Regions from separate parts of the Homo sapiens genome. Here region 1 is linked to region 2. Evidence: promoter capture Hi-C in 16 types of primary human blood cells and fetal thymus (Javierre and others, 2016). All regions are on one chromosome and are shown on one strand. Each heading gives the region's core, a stretch centred on a gene start or on the middle of the fragment in contact. The rest is flanking DNA. Distances are from core to core; before and after follow the strand shown. Region 1 overlaps SPOCD1 (SPOC domain containing 1). Region 2 holds the start of PUM1 (pumilio RNA binding family member 1).

The links. Contacts are between HindIII fragments. The CHiCAGO score rates a contact against its expected background, and 5 or more counts as called.
Region 1: a contact is called between a fragment that was not itself captured here and the fragment with the promoter of PUM1 in region 2, in 1 of 17 cell types (neutrophils). The highest score is 6.7, in neutrophils.

What each region holds. Positions count from the first base shown.
Region 1 is chr1:31,789,064-31,794,920 of GRCh38, forward strand. SPOCD1 (SPOC domain containing 1) reads right to left here. Exons shown (of 16, transcript NM_144569.7): 11 at 5,061-5,172; 12 at 4,684-4,834; 13 at 4,215-4,365; 14 at 3,615-3,704; 15 at 3,152-3,338; 16 at 1,359-2,228. The coding sequence ends at 1,540. Among named protein-coding and RNA genes, the nearest start is that of SPOCD1, 24 kb to the right of the region's middle. RefSeq lists a silencer at 40-329. The HindIII fragment of the contact is 2,297 bases long and covers 655-2,951 here.
Region 2 is chr1:31,061,789-31,067,724 of GRCh38, forward strand. PUM1 (pumilio RNA binding family member 1) reads right to left here and starts at 3,929. Exons shown (of 22, transcript NM_001020658.2): 1 at 3,828-3,929. RefSeq lists enhancers at 3,586-3,905, 3,773-4,687 and a silencer at 4,016-4,235. The HindIII fragment of the contact is 1,467 bases long and covers 2,796-4,262 here.

The sequences.
Region 1 (5,857 bases), core at 553-3,052, 730 kb after region 2:
ATTAGGAAAACCACCCAAACTGTGGGCTCAGAACCAAGCTGTAGGTTTGCATAGTAATTTGCGTCATTTGCATAGAGCGCGGAGGCTGCGGCGCTCCCAGGCCATTTCGAGCCGGAAAAGTTCCCGAAGGAGCCCCGCTCCCTCTCCCGGTTCAACTGTCCAGCCCCCTCTCCCTACCCCTCACCCGCACCCCACCCGCATCCTACCCCGCCCCCGCTTCCAACTCCTTGCGCTAAGTTCCCGCACCTCGCCCCACCCCCCGCTTTGACTCCGGTCCTGCCAGCCCCGACCTCCATCCCAAGGCCGAGGGCCCCCTCTGCTGTCGTCCGCGGGTAGGGCAGCCGCAGAGCTCATGGGGCAGAGAAGAAGGGCTCCCCCAACCGACCATCGCCCCACCCCTTCCAGTCCAGCAGGGGCCAGGGTGAGGCCTGTACATGGGTGGACTTTGCGAAGGGGTGAGCAAAGAGCGGGTAGGGCCCTTCTGGCCCCGGGGCGAAGGGTGGGGTTCTAGAGAGGTTCTCTCCTGGAAGCCAGGCCCCTTTCCCCACGCTGGGTTGGTTGGCCCTGGCAGCTGGTTCCCCCATCAGTCCGCAGATGCAGCTCTCTCGAGGTACACCCCACATGAAACGCTTGACAGTTGCAGTTGCTGTTAGAAGCTTGTTCTAGGCCCAAGGCAAGGCAGCACCGTCCAACCCTAATACCAGTCTCCAACCCCACCCTGAATGCCCACCACCAAGGCTAAGACCTTTGACATTTTCTAACACCAGTCTCTGGAATCTGGCAAGAGATACAGAGAGGAGTCACCCAATCTGGATCTCCTGACTTCCTCAACAGAGACCTACACACAGGCAGGCCATGAAACTCACACAGATACTCTCACATGCTTGCAGGCACACTAGTGCACAGAGATCCCTGAGAAGCACATAGACAGAGACTCGGAGGGAATATGGTGAAGGTATGTACTATCCTTCCCCATCTAGTCAAAGGAAAAAAAAATCTTAGTATTAACTGAAAAATTTAAAGTCCACTGCAACTTGCTTATCTTTTCCTCTCTAGCAATCTCTTGATGTCTGATGTCTGTGACCCTCCAAAAGGCTCTGTCCATTTCTCTCTCCACCCCCAACCTCGGTCCTACTTTCTTTCCCACCACCACCTCTTCCTCCTGGTTCAGAATACTTGCAAAATGCTTCCAGAAACCACCGTGGCAATAGCTGTGCCCTGGGGCGCAGTGATGGTTCAGGACCTCAGACCAGCAATGAGCAAGGCTGCACATTTGTGCACAAGACACTCACTGACACACCCACTCAACCCACATCTGACCAGGACCAGGGGCTCTCCTGACCAGCTAGCAGATGCAATCCCAATTTTACCAAATTCTTTATTGAACAAAAAATCAACAGCAAACATTGTCAAACAGGAAGTTCAAACAGGGCAGGTGGGTAGGGCTGACCATCCTCTCCTTGCAGTCCCACCTCTCTCTGGAACAGGCTTCAACACTAGTGAGGGCATCAAAACCCCTGTTCTGGTGGGTAAGGAGGGTCAGGCCTTTCTAGGGAAGGGACACTCAGAGCCAGCTTCATCTGTAGGCCCCAAAGAGGAGTCACGGGCTGGGCCAGGGGGCTCTGGAGCTGCAAGGGCGCTAGACAAACGCTGCAGAGGGCGGGGGATGGAGCTCTTGGTCTGGGGGCACAGTAAGGCTTGGAGCTGGTGACTCATGGTCGCCAGGGATTCGAGGTGCCGGAGCAGGGCTTGGTGGGGACAGGAGTCCCTGTGGAAGTGCTGGCCACGGCCAAAGCCATGACCAGCTGGTGCTACTGAATAGGGATGCTGGGACTGGCGCAAGCCTGGCTCTGGGGGCCACTGCCCTCGCCCAGGATGCTGCCAGTTTTCAGGCTCTGGCCAGAGCCTCCCCCTGCCTCTGGGGGGCCTCTGCCAAGCAGAGATTCCCCTTGGAGCTATACTGCCCCTGCCCTGGCTCTGCTGCCAGGCACCTCCTGGGGGAGGGGTGCCCTTCAGGGGCACATTCGGCCTCCTGTCATCTGGCTGATAGTATCTCTTCTCCACCTTACTGTTGAAGGAGACCATCTTTTGAACCTTCCCCAACCAGGGGCTGGACCCTGCTGTGTCTGGAAGCCCTTCCTTGGGGAGCAGCACAGCCAGCAACAGACTTGAGTGAGTGACCTCCAGACCTGGGGAAAGGAGAGGGGAGACAGGAAGAGCCCAAAGGCCTGCGGGGAAGAACTGTGTTCAGCTTAGCTGCAGCAGATCTGGAGCCTACATCCCAGGAAGGGCTTCTTCACAGTGAGATGGGGCCCATGAGATGCTGGGAAAAGTAAGTAGGAAGGTGGGGCTGTCTCGGAAGATTTGAGCTCTGCGGGATCAAGGCTTATCTGGCTGAGGCTGGGGTATGGATTGTTTGACCTGAAGACTCTACAGACTCAAAGTCTACCTCATTGTCTCAGGACATGGAGCCCCAAAAGGCCAAGCGCTTTGCTCAGGAGTGGGCAAAGCGCCCACTGCCAACCTCGCTGCTTTCCTGAGCCACGCCGTGGAGGGTGTCCATGCACAGAGGCCGAGCTCGGCCCCCCGTGGCTGTGGCGAAACATCCCTCCCTCCTCTCTGAGGTGACATTTACAGTCAAGTGTGTGTAGGTCCTGACTCTGTCCTGCTGCCTGGGTCAAATGTGGCTGTCCCTGGAGTTTCTCTTCAGGGGTGCCTACCTTGAGAGGCAGTGTGGTGTGGTGGTTAGGGGCCAGGTTTCTGAAGCCATGTTGTGCTTCACACAACGTGTGAACAGAGTGAAGCCCAGTTCTGCTGTTGACTGACTGTGTGACTTTGGACAAGTCATTTGCCTTCTTCCTCCCTCAGATTCTTCTTCTATGAGATGGACAGTCTAGTCTAATAGTACCATTCTCATAGGGTGATGAGACTACAAGAATTCATCTAGGTAAAGCTTTTAGAACAATGGCTGGCATGCAGTTCATGATATCCAAGCGTGAGCTATTACTGTCATTGTACTCACATTTGCCTGGCTGGGTGAGGAGTTCCCTTCTGAGATGTGCCTGCCTCTACTGGGTGACTGTGTCAACCGTGCCTGGTCTGGTCACCAAGTGAGCAGAGGCAGGGTCTGGTATGGGGACTAGGCACTCACCTGGGCCCCCCAAAGGGCGCAGCCTGGTGGGCAGGGGCTGGAAGGCAGGCAGGGGCAGCAGGACCATCCCCATGTGCTCCACAGAGGCCAGCCCGTGGCGCTGCCTATCATTGAGGTATGAGTAGAGCAGGCGGCAGTTCTGGGTGTCCCGGGCCCCATGTGGGCACAGTCTGACCACGCAGACGTCCTGCGGTGGCAGGAGGAGAGCAGCTGTAAGCGCAGTCATCCTCTGCTCCTGCCAACACCCCTGGGCTCCCTGAAACCCCTGAGAACCCCGTGAGAAAGTATGTCTCCATCTTCCAGAGGAGGAAACAGAGGGACCTGTCCAGGGTCACACAGTGAGTCTGCAGTCACTCTGGGAACTAGACCCAGATATCCAAGCCAGGCCTCTGCTCTAGAAGTGGAGAGGGAGGTGGGAGTAAGGTACTAGGAAAAGAGGGGGTGCCCAAGAGTGGGCAGGTACCTTGGCCTTGGCTGGGCAGATGCTGGCCAGAAGGTCCCAGACAATGTTGGAGGGGATGCAGCCTGCCGAGCGGATCACGGTGGGCAGAGCCTAGGGGCAGGAAGGATGGCCAGTCAGCTCCCCAGCTTCCCACCCACTCAGGGTGGACGCATTCCCAGCCACCTGGAAGGCTGCAGCCTGTGGCAAATATGGGCAGGCAGTGTTCCAGGACCCTCAGTGGCTGCCCAGAAAGCTCTAATTGCCCCATGGAGGTCTGCAGCCTGTACTGGCTAATCTACAACTTCTCCAAAGCCCCTCCCTCCCTCCTCTATCCTCTGCTCTCATCCGACACTTTAGCTGATCATTAAGTCACTCAACGATCACTCCTAAAACCCTCCTTTGGGCCCTTCTTGCTATGGGTGACAGGGAGTCCTTCACCCTGTTTGTCTCTGTAGGAATGGGACCAACATCTCATTTGCCCCCATGCCCTGCACAGGGCCAGGCACAGAAAGGGGTGCCCATGAATTGTTTTAGAATGCATGAGTGAAAGAGAGAGAGAGAGAGAGGCTGCCTGGGCTGGTCAGTGTGTAAGGGAATCCCTGGCGAGGAGGGCAGGTGCACCTGGACAAGCCGACAGCTGTGTCCCGAGACCAGCTGGGCCCTGGCCCGGAACCGCTTGATGGAGAACATGTCCAGAACACCTTCCCAGGGTGGCAGGCAGGGCAGGGCCTTTGTGGGTGCAGCAGGCACATGGAGCCCAGATGGAGGGACCCTAGAGGGAGGGACAGAAGACAGGGCCAGACAGAGCAGGCCATGAGGACTTCCCCGGCACCTCCTTTCTTTTCAGAGCAGATCCTGTGTCCCTACTGTGGGGACTGGAACACTGGCCCAAGCTTGGCCTTGTGCAGGGGGCTGCCAGGAGGCTGGGATGATTAGTTCCATTGCACAGATGGGGAAAGTGAGGTTCCCAAGGGAGGGAAGACTTGCCCAAGGCCACACAGGAAAAGCCAGTGCTATGTCTGTTGCACCAGGTGGTGGCCTCCCCCTCAACCCTGCTGGGTTATCCACCTCCCTGCTCCCAACCCCACACCTGTCCTGTGGTTCCGTGGGAGACAACTCCCTGGTTTTGGGCATCTCTGGAGCAGGCATAGGAGTTTGGCTTAGGGCTTTCTGGAAGATATTGTCCCCGCAGCTCTTGGCGGCTTCGAAGGAGCCTAGCAGCTCATTCGAGGGCTCCCAGTCTGCAAATAGCAGAGGCAGGAGCTGAAACAGGGGCAGCAGCAGCGCTGAAGCCAGCCCAGGGCTTTAGAGCCAGGGTTGAACCAGGTTCTTTTCTAGGTGACCTGGGGCACGGGCACCCCTGCTCTGCCACCCTCTCCCCAGGCCACAAATCCCTGTTGCTGCTGAACTGCACGCTCAGCCCCAGCCTGGCTGCCACCCCTGCACCCCTCCCGTGTCCCCTCCCACCCTTGCAGATGTGGCAGTTGGGGTCTAAGAAGTGGTGGTCATGCTGCCCCGTGGTGTCCTCTGATGCGATGGGCAGGGCCTGTGGGCTGCAGTCCATGAACATCTGCGGTCCCTGGGAGGCAGAAGACAGAGGGGCAGGCTGAAAACGTGGCTGGGGGTGCCCGGAGGCCTCCATGGGTAGGGGGCCCCAGGATGTGGTTTATTTTTCTCAATAATAAATGTTGTTTTATTACCAAAATACTGTGAACTCATAAAGAAAATTTGGAAAACACCAAAACTTGAAAATTAAAAAGAAAATCACTTCTTGTCACACCACTCAGAGACCACTGTTGATATCCTGGGTATTCCTTTACAATCTTTTTCTTTTTTTTTCTTTTCTTTTTTTTTTTTTTGTTTGTTTGTTTGTTTTTTGAGACAGAGTCTTGCTCTGTTGCCTGGGCTGGAGTGCAGTGGCTCGATCTCGGCTCACTGCAACCTCCACCTCCCCGGTTCAAGCGATTCTTCTGCCTCAGCCTCCTGAGTAGCTATAGGCGTGTGCCACTATGCCCAGCTAATTTTTGTATTTTTAGTAGAGACGGGGTTTTACTATGTTGGTTGGCCAGGATGGTCTCCATCTCTTGACCTCATGATCCACACGCCTCGGCCTCCCAAAGTGCTGGGATTAAAGGTGTGGGCCACCGTGCCCAGCCCTTTATAATCTTTTTCTATACACAGGGTTTGGGGGTCCTTTTCCTGAAACAGCTGGGATCATATATTCAACTTGGTGTTCTCTTTTTGTTCACTAATAATAGCAGAGG
Region 2 (5,936 bases), core at 2,679-5,178:
CTCTACTAAAAATAATTAGCCAGGCATGGTGGCATGTGCCTATAGTCCCAGCTACTAGGGAGGCTGAGGTGGGAGGATCATTTGAGCCCAGGAGCGGGAGGCTGCACACCCGCTTGGGCGACAGAGTGAGTTCCTGTCTCAAAAACAAACAAACAAACAGAAGCTTCAACACGGTAATAGTGTAATGAATATATCGCAGACATTGTCTCATCACAAAAGCATTGAAAGGTAGCCATTATTATTTCTATTTTACAAATGAAAACACTAAGGTACAGGAGGAAAATGGGATGTTTCCAAGGCCATTCAACTAGCAAGTAGCAGAGAAAGGATTCAAACCCTAATCGTTCCCAAGCTTACTTCTTTCTACTAACCCCTTGCAGGAGTAACTCAACAATATGTCTCATTTGTATCCTCTACTCCTCTGGAAGACCAACAAAGAATCCCTCAAATGTTACTATGAAACACTAAAGTTCCTTAAAACCAAAAACTGCATCTGTACTTAAGATAGAACACTTGCCAGCCTGTGGGTGCTTTTAAAAAATGCTACAAAGTGTCCGGACACGGTGGCTTACGCCTGTAATCCCAGCACTTTGGGAGGCGGAGGCAGGCGCATCTCCAGGTCAGAATTCCAGACCAGCCTGGCCAATATACTGAAACCCCGTCTCTACTAAAAATATAAAAAGTAGCCAGGTGTGGTGGCACGCACCTGTAGTCCCAGCTACTCGGGAGACTGAGGCAGAAGAATCGCTTGAACCCAGGAGGCGGAGGTTGCAGTGAGCCGAGATCAAGGCACTGCACTCCAGCCTGGACGACAGAGTGAGACTCCATCTCAAAAAAAAAAAAAAAAAGCTACAAAGTAAATAAATCAGTTACCAATTAGGACACACCTGTCCACAGCCACGGTCTAATTTCAAAGCCATCGGCCTAACAGTCTACTGCTACAAATGCTTTATCTCTTCTCCCAACCCCCACTGTGATGCTTCAAAAACACATGAATAACAAATCTACTATCTCTCTGTTGAATAAATAAACCTTCTGATAAAGTAGCATTTGCTTCTCACAACTAAATTCATGTTTTTGAAGCCAGCCTAAGAAGACACAATGGAATTTGTAATTTGTTTAAAGCCTAATTTGGAAATGCCTAGTCTAGGTTAAGAATTCCAATCCATCAGAACCTTAGCAGGGTACTGGAGTAGTCTAACCTAGACACTAGTCCCTGCTCAAGTACCAAAACCAAAAAGTCATAGCCCGGTTTCACCATCGGTCTTTCAAAAGTGCAAACCAGCCTAATGCCTCCCTGCTTGGTTTTTTAAAGAATTCATTACTCTCTTAGTACTAATACTAGACAGTCCCATTCTGTTCTAAAAGGAAATCTCGACCTAACAATCTTTGTTCTAGAGCAGGCCAAGAGTTCCAAAACCCAAGTTCTTTCACTAAACAAAACTACCTGTTTCCTCATCTAGAAAATGAAAGAAATCCTTCCTCTATGACTCTCAATGTTTTGGGTTTTTCTTAATGAAAATGAGATAAATATAAAAGTTTTTGGTAAATTTAAAGTCATCGTGCTTAAGACTCTTAGAATTTAGTTACCCCTAGTTAAGGCAACTCCAGTCCCTAACAGAATTCCTAAAACAGCAAATGCAATCTTTTCTGAAATAAAAGCCTTCTCAAAATAGTTATCTAGGAGGCTGAGAGAAGGATAATGAGAGATTACCTAAGGAGGACAATGTACGTTATTCCAGTGATGGACACACAAAAAGCCCTGGCTTCACCACTACGCAATACACGCATGTACAAATTACACTTGTACCTCACAAATTATACAAATAAAAATTTTTAAAAGAAAAAAGTTATCTAACAAAGAATATCCACATAAAAGAGGAGTTTATCACTGACGCACACTAAACACACCTTCATTCTAAAAGGAATGGGGGAAAGAAAAGACTCCTATAAAAATGTTCAAACGAAACAATTGGCTTTTGTAAAGCTATCTGTATGCCCTAAGACTTCCTGCTTTACCTAAAGAGGCAAGGCAGTTTCTCAAACCAGAGAAAACCTGGCAGAACAGTTTCAAAGTGAGCAAATACCTAAGCAATTAACATGTTATCTTGGGTAGTTTTGTGGTATTTTGGCAAATACGGCACAAAAATTAAAAACTCAGTATCCTAAATATCAGAAAAGCTCACTAATACGTGTAGCATTTAAAATGTGATTTTTTTACAAATGACACCTTATAAGTACTTTAAGCAACTAGAAGTGCTCAGTCCAGCTACTCTTTCACAGCTTTCAAATGTTTACAAAGTTTTTTAAAATATCACTAATTGAGTTGAATTCAAAGGAACACGGTTTACTTTATTTCCATGGCTCACCTTTTACTAAAATGCTTAGTGGTTTAAAAGGTGTTTATTTTTACCACACTTAACAAACATTCTGTGGTCATAAATTTATCTTAAAACAGTTCATTTTAAACCTAAACTAAACAAATTCCAACTTCAAAAAGCTGTGGCCTTGAACAAAATGAATTCAATTGTCGCTAAAGCAAAACACTAACTCAAAGTTCAGAATCCGGAGAGCGTTTCCCAAGAGCCCAGATAAAGAATCAACAGCCCCCCAGTGTTTTATAAAGTTAAAATTAGCAAAGGGTCAAAATGTTTATTTTGCTTACGAAAACTGCATCGGAAGCCACATTTCTTGGGGTTGGGCCTGTCTTAGTAAGTTTTTAGGTGCTTTCAAGAAACAAAATGCTAAGCCTATTGTTTCAGAAGTTAACTGACTTTAAAACAGAACCCAGGAAAAGCTTCATAAAATCTTATTCTTAATTAATCCCAGTAATAACAGGAATTGAGCAAAATGGTATCGAGGGCTGAGAACAGTGTTTTCTTAATTGAACAATAAAAGGTAACAATCTAAGTTACGGGAGAATAAAGCCTTCTCTGGTAATGCTGTGTGTGGGTTTCTGGCTTTGTTTTTTCAGCGGGGGGGGGGGGGGGGGCTATAGGAGGGAAAAGTTACAGGAGTGTATTCCTCACTTGACGTGGGAATGGTACTGACAAGTAAAACAAATGATCTATGTTTACCAAGCATGTTTGTGAGGACTAAAACTAGTATTGTGTATCTAGATTTTCCTACTAGCAAGGGGTGAACCCCTCTTTGAGTGAAGAGAGACACCAACACCGGGAGGCTCAAAAAGGAAGAACCCACCAAAAACACAAGCTCACACGGAAACAAAAGGCCACAGCAACCCAGGAGCCTAAAAAGCATTCTGAAACTTCCTGATCGCCACTTCTCCACATTTAAGGCTCGCAAAGTTCCCCCACGGTGAATCTCGCCTGTGGACAAGGGCCACGGCTGCTTCTAAAGCGATTTATTGTTCCTCCTCCTCCGGCGCTGCCACGGAAGCTCAAGAAGTCGAAGAAATCGGGGTGGCACAGAATTACACTTCATGGCCACACAGAAGACTCGGGGCTTCGCAAACCCATCAAAAAAAGCAACCCGAATGGCAACATCAATCTTCGGTGGTTCCCAACAGGGCCAGGCAAAAATGTAGAGGCACGTCTACGCCCTGGGCTCGGGCCTAAACCCCCAGCATTTTCCTAGCTTCGACCCCGCTCCCCACCCCCTCCCTCCTTTGATAACAATAGGGGCCTTGCTGCTGACTCCAAAACATGTACGAGGAACAGCGAGTGAGAAGCCTCAGCCAGGGCCCCGGCGGCTTTTCCAAAGCCCTTCTCACCCCCACAACCACTCTCAAACACCAATATGAAGGGACAATCTGCTCGTTAGGGGTCCGGAGCAGCGTTTGGGGCCGGTGGGGTGCGGATACTCACGGGCGGAGCGGTAGGATGAAGATGGATTTCAGCCCCCCGATCTTCTCTCTCTGGCGCTCTCGCTCCCCCTTACCTTTCACTCCGACAACATGGCGGCCCACTGGGGACTGGGTTGGCGCGGTGCATCCTGGGATAGGCTCCGGCCCCGGCCCCGGCGGTGGCAGCGGCATGTGCGGAGAAGGCTGGCGGCTCTGGAACAGGTTGCCTGGTTGCCATGCCAACCCAGGGCCTGTGTGAACTCGGGAAACTCGCAGGCAACACAAACGCTGCGCGCGAGTGCCCGCCCGCTAGGCGAGCGCGCGCCGCCAGGGCCGAAGGCGGGGTCCCGCCGGCCCGCACCTGGGAGAACACGGCCTGGAGCTGGGCACGCGGGGTTGCGCCGGTGACGCTCCACCGAGTCTCGGACGCGCTCCTCGCGCCCGCCGCGCCCTCGGAAGCTTGCCCCCGAGCACCACAGCTAGCAGGGTTCGCGGACGGCCACCCGCACTGCCCTGGCCCCAGAGGTGCAGGGTTCAAACCCCTTCTCTGCAGCTTTCTAGCTCTGCGGCCTTATTTAAATCGACCTGCCTCCATTTCCACATTTGTACAATGAAGAAGAAAATAACCCCCACTTAACAGAATGGCCTGGAGGATTAAGTGGAATAATGTATGTTAAGTGCTTTTAGTCTTACTGTCTCAAACTAAACTCAAAATAGATTGAAGGCCGGGCGCGGTGGCTCACGCCTGTAATCCCTGGACTTTGGGAGGCTGAGGCGGGCGGATCATGAGGTCAGGAGATCGAGACCATCCTGGCTAACATGGTGAAACCCTGTCTCTACTAAAAATACAAAAAAATTAGCCGGGCGTGGTGGCGGGCACCTGTAGTCCCAGCTACTCGGGAGGCTGAGGCAGGAGAATGGCCTGAACCTGGGAGGCGGAGCTTGCAGTGAGCAGAGATCGCGCCACTGCACTTGAGCCTGGGCGACACGGAGAGGCTCCGTCTCAAAAAAAAAAAAAAAATAGATTGAAAACAGACAAATCGCAATACTGTAAAAGACCAGAAGAAGATATGGGGAGAAGCTCTATAATTGGAGGAGGGAAAATGTTTATACTCATGAATCAAAGTCAAAAGATCATAAAAGAAAATATTGAAAGAAATATAAACATCTGTACGAGAAGAGATGCCATCAACAAAGTAGAACAAATGGATAAAAAATATTTGCAGTACACGGCCAGGCGCGATGGCTCATGCCTGTAATCCCAGCACTTTGGGAGGCCGAGGCGGGTGGATCATGAGGTCAAGAGATCAAGACCATCCTGGCCAACATGGTGAAACCCCGTCTCTACTAAAAATACAAAAAAATTAGCCGGGAGTGGTGGCGGGCGCCTGTGGTCCCAGCTACTGGGGAGGCTGAGGCAGGAGAATCACTTGAACCCAGGAGGCAGAGGTTGCAGTGAGCCAATATTGTGCCACTGCACTCCAGCCTGATGACAGAGCAAGACTCCGTCTCAAGAAAAAAAATATATATATATACACATATATGTATATATACATATATACATATATATACACATATATACATATATACACATATATACATATATACATATATACACATATATACATATATAAACATATATATACGTATATATACATATATATATATTTGCAATACACATGATAAGGAAATGGTTGATCATCATGATAAATGCAAAATTTCTCCCATCAGGGTCCTGGTGGGGTGGCTCACACCTGTAATCCCAGCACTTTGGGAGGCAGAGGTGGTAGAATTGGTTGAGGCCAGCAGTTTGAGACCAGGCTGGGCAACATAGTGAGGCCTCGTCTCTACAAAAAGTTAAAAATTATCTGGGCATGGTGGCACACATCTGTAGTCCTAGCTACTTGGGAGCTAAAGCAGGAGAATTCCCTTGAGCCCAGGAATTGAGCTGCAATGAGCTATGATTGGGCCACTACATTCCAGCCTAGGAGACAGAAAGAGGCCCTGTATCAAATAAATAAATAAATAAAATCTGTAATCAATTTCTAAAAATCCGAAATGGGCTGGGCGCAGCGGCTCATGCCTGCAATCTGAACACTTTGGGAGGCCGAGGCAGGCAGATCACTTGAGG